5 separate regions of the Homo sapiens genome follow, and all the other regions are linked to region 3. The links are contacts of gene promoters, found by promoter capture Hi-C in human tissues and cell types (Jung and others, 2019). All regions are on one chromosome and are shown on one strand. Each heading gives the region's core, a stretch centred on a gene start or on the middle of the fragment in contact. The rest is flanking DNA. Distances are from core to core; before and after follow the strand shown. Region 1 overlaps PARN (poly(A)-specific ribonuclease). Region 2 has its middle 53 kb from the start of ERCC4. Region 3 holds the start of CPPED1 (calcineurin like phosphoesterase domain containing 1). Region 4 overlaps LOC105371093 (a long non-coding RNA gene). Region 5 holds the start of ERCC4 (ERCC excision repair 4, endonuclease catalytic subunit).

What was found. The method cuts DNA at HindIII sites, captures the fragments that hold promoters and counts their contacts. A contact is called where the count stands out against the background at its distance.
Region 1: a fragment that was not itself captured here is called in contact with the fragment with the promoter of CPPED1 in region 3 in 1 of the 25 tissues and cell types used here (heart left ventricle).
Region 2: a fragment that was not itself captured here is called in contact with the fragment with the promoter of CPPED1 in region 3 in 3 of the 25 tissues and cell types used here (H1 embryonic stem cells, dorsolateral prefrontal cortex and mesendoderm cells).
Region 4: a contact is called between a fragment that was not itself captured here and the fragment with the promoter of CPPED1 in region 3, in 2 of the 25 tissues and cell types used here (dorsolateral prefrontal cortex and lymphoblastoid cells).
Region 5: the fragment with the promoter of ERCC4 here is called in contact with the fragment with the promoter of CPPED1 in region 3 in 1 of the 25 tissues and cell types used here (dorsolateral prefrontal cortex).

The regions. Positions count from the first base shown.
Region 1 is chr16:14,443,810-14,446,509 of GRCh38, forward strand. All of the region lies in intron 23 of PARN (poly(A)-specific ribonuclease), which reads right to left. Among named protein-coding and RNA genes, the nearest start is that of LINC03107, 16 kb to the left of the region's middle. RefSeq lists an enhancer at 1,824-2,324. The HindIII fragment of the contact is 4,437 bases long and covers 1-2,700 here.
Region 2 is chr16:13,866,089-13,868,788 of GRCh38, forward strand. No RefSeq gene overlaps it. Among named protein-coding and RNA genes, the nearest start is that of ERCC4, 53 kb to the right of the region's middle. RefSeq lists an enhancer at 4-298. The HindIII fragment of the contact is 6,401 bases long and covers 1-2,700 here.
Region 3 is chr16:12,802,632-12,805,331 of GRCh38, forward strand. It overlaps CPPED1 (calcineurin like phosphoesterase domain containing 1), which reads right to left and starts at 1,256. Exons shown (of 4, transcript NM_018340.3): 1 at 1,076-1,256. The coding sequence starts at 1,145. RefSeq lists an enhancer at 838-1,207 and a silencer at 1,288-1,337. The HindIII fragment of the contact is 16,943 bases long and covers 1-2,700 here.
Region 4 is chr16:13,898,237-13,900,936 of GRCh38, forward strand. It overlaps LOC105371093 (a long non-coding RNA gene), which reads right to left. Exons shown (of 4, transcript XR_007065000.1): 3 at 159-284. Among named protein-coding and RNA genes, the nearest start is that of ERCC4, 21 kb to the right of the region's middle. The HindIII fragment of the contact is 8,964 bases long and covers 1-2,700 here.
Region 5 is chr16:13,918,807-13,921,506 of GRCh38, forward strand. ERCC4 (ERCC excision repair 4, endonuclease catalytic subunit) reads left to right here and starts at 1,348. Exons shown (of 11, transcript NM_005236.3): 1 at 1,348-1,566. The coding sequence starts at 1,360. The region is part of intron 1 of LOC105371093 (a long non-coding RNA gene); the gene reads right to left. It overlaps LOC124903647 (a long non-coding RNA gene), which reads right to left and starts at 1,272. Exons shown (of 2, transcript XR_007065001.1): 1 at 873-1,272; 2 at 659-777. RefSeq lists enhancers at 932-981, 1,192-1,551, 1,592-1,801. The HindIII fragment of the contact is 8,609 bases long and covers 1-2,700 here.

The sequences.
Region 1 (2,700 bases), core at 181-2,680, 1.6 Mb after region 3:
TGCTGGGCCCCCAAGCCCCTGAGGATCTGTTGAGTACCTGCTGAGATGCTTTTCTGAGTACTGGAGCTCACACCCAACGCCTCAGCACCGTTTTGGGTTGGACAGACTTTGTCGCGCCGTGCCTAGCACTCTAATACAGTTCCCGCCACCACCCGAACCAGACCTTCGCGGCTCCTGGCACACTCTAAATACTTCTGAGAGTTTAATGCAGACCCTCAACAGGGCTTGAACTTTGTACTCTCACTCATTATGGGACCTTATTAAAGTAAATGAGCAAGCCAAATTGGCTGATTCCACAGGTTCTGCACCTGATATCCTGACCTATATCCTGCTGATACTAATAGGATTAAACACTGAAAACAAACCAGGTGGAAAGGATCCATTAAGTTTCCACCTGGCACCGTCAGGGGTCTTGCTCGATGAATGGTGCTCCAGAAGAAAGCTCGATTCACTCAAGTTCTCTGATTCAATTAAAAGTTGTCAAGATGTCTCTTTCTCTTTTTTTTTTGGCAGCACTGACAAAGAAGTACAAAATCTACAATTTTTTTTTTAGCTCAAATCTTGTGGCAGTGACAGCTTTACTGTCAATGGGAGGAAAAAAACCCTTATTTTAATTACAGTATTATAAATTCAAAACCCTAAATAACTTATAGAAAGTTTTCACTTAAAATGATGAAAGCTATAAAAGGAACTAATCTATTAATGCAGTCTATTATTAGTTATTTTAATTTTAATATTTTTCAGATTATGCTGATATAGAGGGGAAAAACGAAAAGCTTGTCCCTGAGGAGTAATAAACTAAAAAAATCCAGAAGAGACAGCTATGAAGGACAGGAATACAAGTGGGGAAACCCCCCTGCCCCTCTAAATCCTGCTCAGTACGATCTCTAGAAATCATGCTGACATTCATTATTTTAACATTTGTTGAGCACACGAAACATGACAGTGGTAATAAAGGTATGAAATTTGAAGACTAAGGATGCTACAGATTTAAAACTTCTCCAATACTTTTTCTTCTTTCTTTTCTTGAGACAAGGTCTCACTGTGTCCCCCAGGTTGGAGTGCACTGATGCGATCATAGCTCACTGCAGTCAAAACTCCTGGGCTCAAGCGATCCTCCCGATTCAGCCTCCTGAGTACCTGGGACTACATGCCCGTGCAGCTAATATTTAAATTTTTTTTTTTTTTTTTTTTTTTTTGTAGAGAAAAGGTGTCACTATATTGCCCAGGCTGGTCTCAAACTCCCGGGCTCAGGTCATCCTCCTGCTTCAGCTTCCCAGAGTGGTGGGATTATAGTTGTGAGCTACCATGCCTGGCCCCCTCCAATAGTTAAGTCAGGGAAAGGACAGGAGGTAAGTAAAGAGAGACACCCAGAGTCAAGAGACAGCTAAAACATCCAATCCAGGCTTCAAACACAAGTTTAAGTTTTCTGTTGAAATTCAGCTTCAGCATAATGTACAAAAAGCATATGTGACATTTTTGCTACTTGTCTGATTTCATTAATATCCATGAGATTCAGAAAACTCCCCACAGTCAGATCGGGCCACATGCAAAAGGGGATTAATTAAAACAGTGCATTCATAGCTTGGGTATGAATCAAGTTCCACCACTTGACTACTACTTTCCTTTGATTTGATTGTTAGTTCTGCTAACCGTGACAACTGTCACGATGTGAGACAAAGGAGAATGATTATAATTGTGTCTGGGTCAGTGTCTCTCAACACATAACCTTGGTTAAAAGCACTCACTTTCTTTTGTGTGTGTGTATGTAAGACAGGGTGTCACTCTGTTGCCCAGGATGGAGTGCAGTGGCGCAATCTTGGCTCACTGTAGCCTTGACCTCCCTGGGCTGAGGCAGTCCCCCTACTTCAGTCTCCTTAGTAGCTGGGACTACCGGCATGCGCCACCACACCTGGCTAATTTTTTGTATTTTTAGTAGAGACGTGGTTTTGCCATGTTGGCCATGCTGGTCTTGAACTCCTGACCTCAAGTGATCCACCCGTCTTGGCCTCCCAAAGTGCTCGGATTACAGGCGTGAGCCACCGAGCCTGGCCTCACCAGCTTTCTTGTAGGACAGACTTAATGGCTCTGGGACTTTGGGCAACTCACATAACCCTTTGGGCCTCCGTTTTCTTAACTGTAAAATGGATAATGATGACTGTCTCAAGGATTTAAATGAAAGAATTTCAGTTACACATTAAGCACTGTCCTGGCTCCAGTAATAAGCACTCAATAAGCAGTGGCTATGATTACTGTCACTGTGACTGCTGCCTTGCTGGACCGCCCCCTGCAGCAGGGAATGGCCTTTTCCATGTGCTGACTGACAAGATGCCCTTCTGGCCTCTTGCTGTGGCCCTGTGTGGCATGTGTGCATGAAGGGCTGAGTGAGGCACATCTGCGGGGTGGAGAGGACATGGGATTCAGCTCAGGCAGACCTGGGTCTGCCTTTCGGCTGTGCTTCTTAAGCGCAGCATGGCCCCGCACACTTAGCCTCGCTGAGCCCAGGCATCTGCTTCATCAAATAAGGATGATGATTCCCACCTCAGGGCTACGGTGAAAATTAAATGAAATAAGGAGAGAAATGGCTCCTACTACAGCGTCTAGCATGTAGTAGGCTCTCAACAGGTGCTAATTTCCTGTTTCCTTTGCTTCTTATATAATTCTGCTTCGGAGAGAAATCCAGGTTGCCTGGGGGTTTTG
Region 2 (2,700 bases), core at 136-2,635, 1.1 Mb after region 3:
GGAGTAAGTCAATAAAGTGTGTATTAATCTAGGGCAATTGGGACTCAATCTCAGCAGGAACCTCCTGAATAGCCATGCCTCAGAATCAATCCACTAAGGGACAAGGCAGCTGGGATAATTATTTTCCAACTCCCTTCTCTCATTGATCGAGGATTGACCTTGGGGCATTGCGCCTCCAGTCCTTTGGGATTGCCCTGTGGACGGGCTAAGCAAGCTCTCTCGCCACTAGAGGGAACCCTGGGGCAGAGAAACGTGTGCTCCAGGGCGTAAGCAGTCAGCGTGCCTGGAAACCATCCACCATAGCTGCAAGAGGCCTAAAGAGATTGGCCAAGGGATGTGGCATGGGATACTAATCATATCTGCTACATGGGAAAAACTGTATCAGCAATGTTTTGCTTTATTTTTAAGAAACATCTGAAGTAAATAAAATAAAATGTTAATATTTGTCAATTCTACCCAGTGGTTGCATGGGTGGCTGCTATATTATTCTCTGTTCCTTTTTGCATTTTGTCTTTAAATTTTACAAATTACATTCACAATGTTGTAAAACCACCGCCACTGTTTTGCTTTATTTTTAAGAAACATCTGAAGTAAATAAAATAAAATTGTTAATATTTGTCAATTCTACCCAGTGGTTGCATGGGTGACTGCTATATTATTCTCTGTTCCTTTTTGTATTTTTTGTTTAAATTTTACTAATTACATTCACAGTGTTGTAAAACCATCACCACTGTCTATTTCCAAAATTTCACCACCCTAAAGAGAGAGCAATAAGCAATAACTCCTTATGCTCCTCTCCCTTGGCCTTTGGTAACTTCTAATCTACCTTCTGTCTCTATAAATTTCCCTATTCTAGATATTTCATACAAGTAGAATCACACAATATTTGTCCTTTTTGTTGGCCTATATCACTTAGCATAATGCTTTCAAAGTCAATCCATGTTGTAACATGTATCAGAACTTTCTTTCTTTTTATGGCTGAATAATACCCCAGCGTGTGTGTGTGTGTGTGTGTGTGTGTGTGTGTGTGTACCACATTTTGTTTATTTATTCATCTGTTGATGAACTCTTGGGTTGTTTTCACCTTTTGGCTATTGTGAATAATGCTACAATAAACATTGCCATGGAAGTAACTATTGGAGTCCGTGTTTCCAATTTTTTGTTGTATACCTAGGAACAGAATTGCTAGGTCATATGGTAACTCTATGTTTCATTTTTTGAGGAACCACTATACTCCTTTCCATAGCATCTAAACCGTCCTACATTCCAACCAGCGCTTCATAAGGGTTCCAATTTCTCCCCATCCTCGCTAACACTATCTTCTCTTTGTTGTTGTTGTTGTTATAGCCATCCTAGTAGGTATGAAGGGATATTTCACTGTGGTTTTGGGTTGCATGTCCTTAATGATGATATTGAACACCTTTTCATCTACTTATTGGCCATTTATGTATCTTCCTTGGAGAAATGCCTATTCAAGCTTTCTGTATTCTTAAACCTTTTCAAAATAAAAATGTAAGGTCCTATAGCATGCAGTGGAGCCTACTATTTGAAAACAACTTCTGCTTTTTCTAGTGAAGTTACTTTCTTGATTTTTCTAACAATCAAAATTTTTCTCTACTTTGTCTCTCAGCAGATTTCAGTTTCAACTGCATCATCCATTCCATCAATCAGCAAGTTTGCTAAGAGAGCTTTCGTGAAGCTACTTTGCAACATCTAAGTGACAAGCAAATCCAACTTTAGGCAAAGGTCCAATAAGTCACACTCCAGGAGATAGCAACAAAAGTAAAATCAAGTAGTGATGACTTGTCAACCTATCCTTTATTCTGGACTAAAGGGATGTGGGCTTTTTCTTTTGGTTTTAAGTAGGAAAATGATCTCTTCCCATCTCCTAATCACAGAACAAGAAACGAAGGGAAGGAAGATTAAAAAGGGTAGGGTAGTCCCTCCAAAAATACACAAAAGCATCAATTGTAGTTTACATCAAAATTCAAGTCCCATGAAGTTTATCAAAGTTTGTAGTATAACTGTATCTCTCTACTAGAGTTTGAACCAAGCATTTTTTCTCTTTGCTGGCATGTCTATTGTTCCAAGTTCTATGGGAATAATGGGGTTTATTTAATATTTTCCACATCTTCCCTACTTGTCAGTTATTTCTCTCCCCCTTCCTCAAACCCCTGAGAAACTCCCAAACACTTTCTATATTGTATTCACGAGGAGGCAACACTGTGGGACTGGGTTTGGGCATGGAGTGTAGCCTGCAGACTATCAAGGGTTGGAGTCTTGGCTTTGTCATTTAATATCGTTGTTGTTGATGCTGCTGTTGGTGCTAACTTCTCTAAACTTCAGTTTCCTTTTAAAGTCTGTTTTAAAAAGGAAAACTATTACTACAAATAACCAAAATATCAATTTTATCTAGTTTGAACAATAAAGACAATTTAATATATCTCATTTAACAGGAAGTCTAGGGATTTCCGAGATTGGGCGGGATTCAGAGCTGGTTTTTTTCAGCCACTCGATGATATTGTTAAGGACCTAGGTTCTTTCCATCTTGCTACTCTGCCAGCCAAAGCATTAGTATTATCTTAAAACCAGTTTCCTTGTAGCTGTAAGAAAGCTGTTAGCTATAAACTTCTCTGTATATATCTCCCAGAAGGCAGCAACATTCTCCTCCAATTTGGTGATGGGTAGAGAGGTTTTTCC
Region 3 (2,700 bases), core at 6-2,505:
ACCGGAGAAACCTACTTTAGATAAGGTAGCAGGTAAAGTCTCTGAGGAAGTGAATGAACTTTAAAATGAGGTGTGACGGTTGAGAGAGCCAGGCTCACCAACCCTGCTAAAGAAGCAGAAAACAGCAAGCGCCAAGACCCTCAGGGAAAGAACGGCCTTGGCCCTTTTAAATGCAGTTCAAACAAGGGCAACAACAAAACCTGTTGCAGAACTGGGCAAGAGAGAGAATGACAACCCTGAAGGAAGTGGACACAAGCCTGATCATATAGGGCATTTAGGGTGACTTCCCTGGGGGTATAAAGCTGGTGAGAGCCTGGGAGGCGATCTGGCTGCAGGCAGCAAAAAGCCACAGAGGGGAATCAACAAACCAGAAACAAACCTCCCTCTTTACTTAGCACCTAGCATGCGTCCAACACCGGGTTACAAAAATACTTTTGATCTGTTTACGCTTCCAACAACCCTATGAGGCAGGTATTATCAAACCCATTTTTAAGGCAAAGCAGATAATCTAAATCCAAAATCCAAGCACTTCACTACGACTCTCGAATGCCCTCCCTCTCTACTGCTCTGATGGGGCAGTGTTACCATTTCGGTGAATGACTTAAATAAACGTCATTATGGAGTACAGAATACATAACGGTGAACAACCTTAATAAAACCGACACCCTCTAACATGCACCGAACGCTTATCCAGTAACACCCACAAGTATTCCCGTTTCACAGATGTGGAAGCTGAGGCCAAGATGCTAATGCACAGCTTGGAAACCAGGTCTCGCTGCAGAGTCCAAGCTGTCATTAACTATGCTTTGCTACCCTCCTCTTACTTCCCTTCTCTGGGGGAAGTTAGGTCAAGGCCAAGGAGGCTCCTAGACCAGATCGCTCTCTCGGCCTCGCCTCTCAACTGCGCCCCTGGAATCCCTAAGAGCAGGCTTTGATGCAGCTATGGCGGCTCCCAGGCCCCGGTGCAGCCCCGGATGGTGTCCGACTGGCGGAGCGCACACCTGAACAAAAGGTTCCCCCGGCGGAAGGTTCCGCAGCCCCAGAGTCCCCTCCCCGGGTGAGGGGCGGGCAGTACCTGCGGGAAACGCGGCCAGGGTCCTGCCCCTGGCTCTGTGGAAAACACCCCCCGCCTCTGCAGCCGACATGGCGAGCGAGTTTCTGGCCTTCACTTAGAACACTGCGTGGGTGGAAGCCGCGCGACTTCACACAGAACAACCGCTGGACCTGTCCCGCTTTGGGCGACGCCCTTTGATCTCGGGGCGGGACTGGGGCGGGACGGGGAGGGGCCCGGTGGCTCGGGGCGCCACTAGTGCTGCCTGGGCGGAGCGGAGGCGCCAGCGGCCCCTCTGGGATCGACCTGCGCGCCTGGCGAGTGGAGACTGTCTAGGGCACGCGTGGGCGGGGATAAGGCTTTGGGGTCAGTCCTTCCCTAAAGGCAGAGTTACTAGATTTAACAAGTAAAAATGCAGGACTCCCGGTTAAATTGGAATTTCAGATTTTTTTTTTTAAAGAATGACTGACTTGGTATAAATATGTCCTATGCAGTATTTGGGAGCTACTTACGTTAAATTTTTTTTTCATTATCTGAAATTCCAATTGAACTGGGCGTCCTAATTTTTTTAAATTTTTCTCTTTTTGCAGGTTTGAATGGAAGCGTCCTGATTTTTTTTTATCTGACAACTCTATCATAAAGTCAGAAGGAGCCACTGGGGTGGCTTACGCCTGTAACCCCAGCTCTTTGGGAGGCCAAGGAGGGAGGATCGCTTGAGTCCAGGTGTTGGAGACCAGCCTGGGCAACACGGCGAGAGACCTTGCCAATACAAAAAAAAAAAAAAAAAAGATGAAAAGGTGGACGTCTTGGAAGACTGTCTCAGCCTGAACTTCCCAGTGGCTGCCACCATCTTTCTGTTATTATCTTTGCTTGCTATGCACCAGGCAGGGCGCTAAGCACTTTGCACGCTGCTCACTTAATCCCCACTACAGCCCTAGGAGGTGGTGCTGTTATTAGCTGCATCCGTCATTTGGGGAAACTGACGCTCAGAGAGATGAACGAACTTGCACAAGGTGACACACATCTAGAGAGGTAGTAAAGCTGCGAGTAACCAAATTAGTGTCTCTTCAACTCAAGAGCCATTGTAGTGAACTACTTAGCCAGCATTTGTCAAACGTGTTGAAAATACAAATTCCAGAATGGACCTATTGAATCCAAATCTCTATGAAAATGATCTGTGTTTTGTTGTTGTTGTTGTTGTTTTGAGACAGGGTCTCACTCTGGTTGCCTAGGCTGGAGTGCAGTGGCACAATCTCTGCAGTCTCGATCTCCTGGGCTCAGGTGATTCTCCCACCTCAGCCTCCTAAGTGGCTGGCACTATTGGCGTGCGCCACCATGCCTGGCTAATACTTTGTATTTTTAGTAGAGACGAGTTTGACTATGTTGCCCAGGCTGATCTGGAACTCCTGAGCTCAAGCAATCCACCCACCCGGGCCTCCTAGAGTGCTAGGATTACAGGCATGAGCCACAGTGCCTGGCCTGAAAATGATCTGTTTTTAACAAGCACTGCAGGGGAGCTCTTATGATCTTACAAATTTGGGAAATTCTTTTCTAAACTAGCTGCCTACATCCAAAGCACTGTTTGAGTAGCTAATATGGCCATAACTACTGTTCTCTAATCCTTGACAAGAGTCACCCATGAATCATAG
Region 4 (2,700 bases), core at 129-2,628, 1.1 Mb after region 3:
TCTCAAGAAGAAAGAAAAAAAAATTCTCTTTCCAAGGGGATGCATGAGGTTCTCTTCGCTTCGTCTGTCTCCTTTTTTAATAACTGCATCAGCTTGATGTCTAGGATAGGAAATCGTTAACATGTTTCAGATGAGGGCATTAAGACCAAAATACTCACATGAAGTCAGATGGGATGGAATGGGGTGAAAATCAGACTCTGCCAGGCTGCAAATGCCATGCCCTTTCCAGGCTCAGGGTAAGAAATGTCCTTTTACTACACTCCTTTGTGCCTGGTTCAGTAATGCTCAAAACATGGGAGAGAGGGAGGAATAAAAGGAAAGTCATTTCAGAGGTTAATTTCATTTTTACACTTCAGAAAGTGAAATGAGGAGATTTGACAAGTACCTAATTAATTTGATCTGGGTAAACAGCTCAAATGGATCTTTTTCATCTAAAAATAACTCCACTATGGGACTTGGCTTAATACAATCGTTCTCAAAATGTGGTCCCCAGACCAGAGTTAGCAGCAGCACCAGCACCTAGGAGAACTTGTTAGAAATGCAAATTCCACACTGGGCAGGGTGGCTCACGCCTGTAATCCCAACACATTGGGAGGCCAAGGTGGGTGGATCACTTGAGGTCAGGAGTTTGAGACTAGTCTGGCCAAAATTGTTGTAAAAATACAACAATTTTGTATTTTTAGTAGAGACTGTGAAACCCCACCTCTACTAAAAATACAAAAATTAGCTGGGCATGGTGGCAGGTGCTGTAGTCCCAGCCACTCCGGAGGCTGACGCATGAGAATTGCTTGATCTGGGAGGCAGAAGTTGCAGTGAGCCGATATCATGCCACTGCACTCCAGCCTGGGCAACAAAATGAGACTCCGTCTCAAAAAAAAAAAAAAAAAAAAAAAAAAAAAAAAAAAAAAAAAGAGAATAAAGCAGATCACAATGCTTGGATACATACAAGTTCTCCCATCACATTTTTATTCCCAGAGTCAGTTTGCTGTGCATCCCTACTCAAGGCGCTGCTATGGCCTGGGTTCACCCATTGATGTGCACCATTTTGTTAAAATAAATCATCTTATTTTATGCATTAAATGCAGCATGTGTGTTATTACCCTCACCTAAGTTTGCGTGGCCTCTCAAACGACCACCGAATCAGGTGGCACTGATCCTACAGCTGCTACCAAGATCCTGGCTGTGGGCCAGGAGTGCTGGCTCACGCCTCTAACCCCAGCACTTTGGGAGGCCAAGTCGGGCGGATCACTTGAGGCTAGGAGTTCGAGACCAGCCTGGGCAACATCGTGAAACCCTGTTTCTACTTAAAAAATATAAAAATTAGCCAGGCGTGGTGACGTGAGCGCCTGTAATCCCAGCTACTGTAGGCTGAGGCAGGTGAATCACTTGAACCCAGGAGGTGGAGGTTGCAGGGAGCCAAAATCACACCACTGCGCTACAGTCTGGATAACAAAGCGAGACGCTGTCTCAAAAAAAAAAAAAAAGATAAAAGATCCCGGCTGTGGCAGCGAGTGTTGTACCCTATTAGGGTAATGACAGCTTGCAGCTATCTTCAGAGCTACTATAAATGCCTCTTATTGATATTACTAGCTTAATGCTGAAGCTTAATTCCCTCTTAATAAAAACACTGCAGTTTTTCACATTAATTACAACAGTGAGTAATGGTTACTATTTGCCTATAAACATTCCACACTTTTAAATAACACAAGATGTCTCCACAACAGTTACGAATTACATTTATCAGCTAGTGACAAATCCCAAAAAGATAACAGTGGCTTCAACAAATTAGAGGTTTATTTTTCTCACATATGAAAGAAGTCCAGAAGTAGACAAGCCAAGGCTAGAGGTAGATGTATATCACAAAAATTAAGTTTCTGCAGTCTTTCTACTCTGCTATTCTTTCTCTTTTTTTTTCTTTTTCTTTTTTTTTTTTTTTTTTTGAGACAGAGTCTCGTTCTGTCACCCAGGCTGGAGTGCAGTGGCGTGATCTCGGTTCGCTGCAAGCTCCGCCTCCTGGGTTCACACCATTCTCCCGCCTCAGCCTCCCGAGTAGCTGGGACTACAGGCACCCCCCACCACGCCTGGCTAATTTTTTGTATTTTTAGTAGAGATGGGGTTTCACCCCGTTAGCCAGGATGGTCTCGATCTCCTGACCTCGTGATCCGCCCGCCTCAGCCTCCCAAAGTGCTGGGATTACAGGTGTAAGCCACCACTCCCAGCCTCTTTTTTTTTTTTTTTTTTTTTTTTTGAGATAGAGTCTCACTCCGTGGTCCTAGCTGGAGTGCAGTAGCATGATCTCAGCTAACTTCAACCTCCATCTCCTGGGGTCAAGTGATTCCCCTACCTCAGCCTCCCAAGTAGCTGGGATTCAAGTGATTCTCCTGCCTCAGCCTCCCGAGTAGCTGGGACTACAGGTGCATGCCACCACATGCAGCTAATTTTTTGTATTTTTTTTAGTAGAGACGAGGTTTCACCGTGTTAGCCAGGATTGTCTTGATCTCCTGACCTCGTGATCTGCCCACCTCGGCCTCCCAAAGTGCTGGGATTACAGGCGTGAGTCACTGTGCCCGGCTTAATTTTCATATTTTTAGTAGAGACAGGGTTTCATCATGTTGGCCAGGCTGGTCTCGAACTCCTGACCTCAGGTGATCCGCCCACCTCTGCCTCCCAAAGTGCCAGGATTACAGGGGTGAGCCACCA
Region 5 (2,700 bases), core at 98-2,597, 1.1 Mb after region 3:
AACAGATCCTCTTGGAAACGGCTAGTGTGAATGTGAATTGGTATAGGCTTTCTAGAGGGCAATGTGGCAATGTGAATGGAATGAAAAGCCTTACAAATTTTTTTCTCTTTATCCCAGTGATTATTCATTTCTAGACGTGTATCTGAAGGCCACGGCTGAATTTACATACAAAGATGTTTAGTGAAATATTATTTATATTACTGGAAGGGAAAAAGCAGAAACAGACTAAATGTCCTCTAATAAGCAATTAGGTAAGTACACCCACATAATGGAAATCTCATCAGCCATATAAAAGGACTTTGTAAAAGAATATGAAACATCATGTTCAGAGGTTTGCCAAATGTTAATGACAAAGCTGGGGATTTAAATCAGGGATATTAATTATCTCGTGTCGGTAAAAGAACTCCGTGTGATGAGAGAATGTGTATATAGATAGAAAAAAAAGGACTAAATAAAATAGATTTCGTGATGTTAACAGTGGTTATTTCCAAGTAATGGAAACAAGTGATTTTCATTTTTGTTTACTTGTATTTTCTATTTTCTAATAACAAAGGTGGGGGGTTTCTATACAAAACAATTCCTCTACTAGTTCAACTATCAGGCATTTCTAGGTATAGAACAAACACTGCGGGAGGTGTCCCTCTAGTGGAAGGAGGGATTTTTAAAAATAGTTTATTGTATTGAAGTCTTTGGGAGGCAAACAGAGGTCTGAAGTCAGTAAATGATTCTGCTTATTCCACAGCCACTGCACTCCAGCCTGGGCAACATATCAACATCCTGTCTCGGGAAAGAAAAAAAAAATTAAAAGAAGGATGGGGAGTAATCGCAAAAGGAAGGGCCAAAAACCACCCTAGGAAACAGGTGCTACTAACTCTTGGCGCATTTGGAATATTGACCAGTAACTTTTTCAACTGTCGATGTCGGGGGATTAAGCTCCTTAGGCTTACTTCCCCTTCCCTTGCTTTTTGGCAGCTTGAGGCTAGGGTGCCAGGGGATGTGGAAACTCAAAAGAGACGTGAATGGAGCCTGATATCTGCAAGCTACACCGACAGGGGGCGCCAGCCCCTACAGGTGACTCCATGAATCTTCGGCTCCACTCGGCTCTTCTTCGGCTGAGTTCGGCCAACGCTTGCCTTCTCAGGCTCGGCTCTCTTCGGCTTTCTGAGAGCGCGCCTGTCGTGGCCTCGGCTCCTCTTCGGCTGCGTTCGGCCCACGATCATCTCAGTCTCAGCTCTCCTCGGCTACGTTCGGCTGGCTGCCGTCCTCTCGGACTCGGCTCTCTTCGGTTGAGTTCGGCCTACTCTCCACTAGGAGTCGGCTTCCTTCGGCTGCGTTCGGCTGCGACCCGGAAGAGCTTCCATGGAGTCAGGGCAGCCGGCTCGACGGATTGCCATGGCGCCGCTGCTGGAGTACGAGCGACAGCTGGTGCTGGAACTGCTCGACACTGACGGGCTAGTAGTGTGCGCCCGCGGGCTCGGCGCGGACCGGCTCCTCTACCACTTTCTCCAGCTGCACTGCCACCCAGCCTGCCTGGTGCTGGTGCTCAACACGCAGCCGGCCGAGGAGGTGCGGCCGCGCTGGCGCGGGAGTGAGGGGACTCCGAGAGTGTTGAGGGCCTCCTGAGCGGATGCGAGGCCTCTGACAGGGATGGAGGGGCTCTGAGGGGGATTCAGGCCCCTGACACTACGCGATGACACAGAGAAGGATGGCAGGGGTCCCCAGGGGGATGCAGGTCCCTCACACTGCGGGAACACAGACGTATGTAAGGGGTCGCTAGGAGGATACCGGTCGCTCACACCGTGCGGGGACACTGATAAGAATTGGAGGGGCCCCGAGAAGGCTGCAGGTCCCTGGCAGGAGTTGAAGAACACTAAGAGGAATGCCAGTCCCTGACACTGTGCGGGGACTCTGAGAGGGAAGGGAGGGGTCCCAAGAAGGATGCAAGTCTTTGACCAGAGTTCAAGAACACTAAGAGAAATGGGAGGGGTCCCCAGGGGATGCGGGTCCCTGACACTGTGCAGGCACAGTGAGAATGATGGAAGGGGTCCCGAGAAGGATGCAATTCCCTGACAACACTAAGAGGGATGGGAGGGGTCCCCAGAAGGATGCAGGTCCCTGACATGGGTGCAAGGGCACTGAAAGGTGAAGGGGCTCTGAGTGGTAGGAGAGGATCGGAGGTCGCTGCAGGGGAGGGGGAGATGTCGGAAGGAGGATCTGGATAGGAATAACGGGAGAGTCCTGAAGTTGGCCATTAAGGGAGTTTCTGGGGGCAGAAGGAAGGTCCCTGAAAGGGAACAGTGATGAGGATGGAAGATCTCTGAGGGTGATGGGGAGACATGAAAGGAGATGCTGAGGCGCTGGAAAAACCCCAATAGGGAAAAGGAGGGACCAGGAAATAGGACATTCACCAAGGCTGTGTTAAGAGGGCCATAGGGTCAGAAAGGGATTGGAGCTTGACGCTGAGGATGTTGGCAAAGGTTAACTACAGTTAAGGACAATGGAGAACACTGAGAAAGATGGAATGGGGCTACACATGGGTCTGAGGGGTGTTGAGAGGGGACACAGCTTGGTCGGACAAGTCTGATGATCCCCTAGATATATCAGGTGGCCGGGAGAAAAATGTCAGCTGAGAAGAGTGACCACAGTCTCTTTGAGGGCAGGGATCCTGTTTGATTCATCTAGGTATCCCCAGTGCTTGGC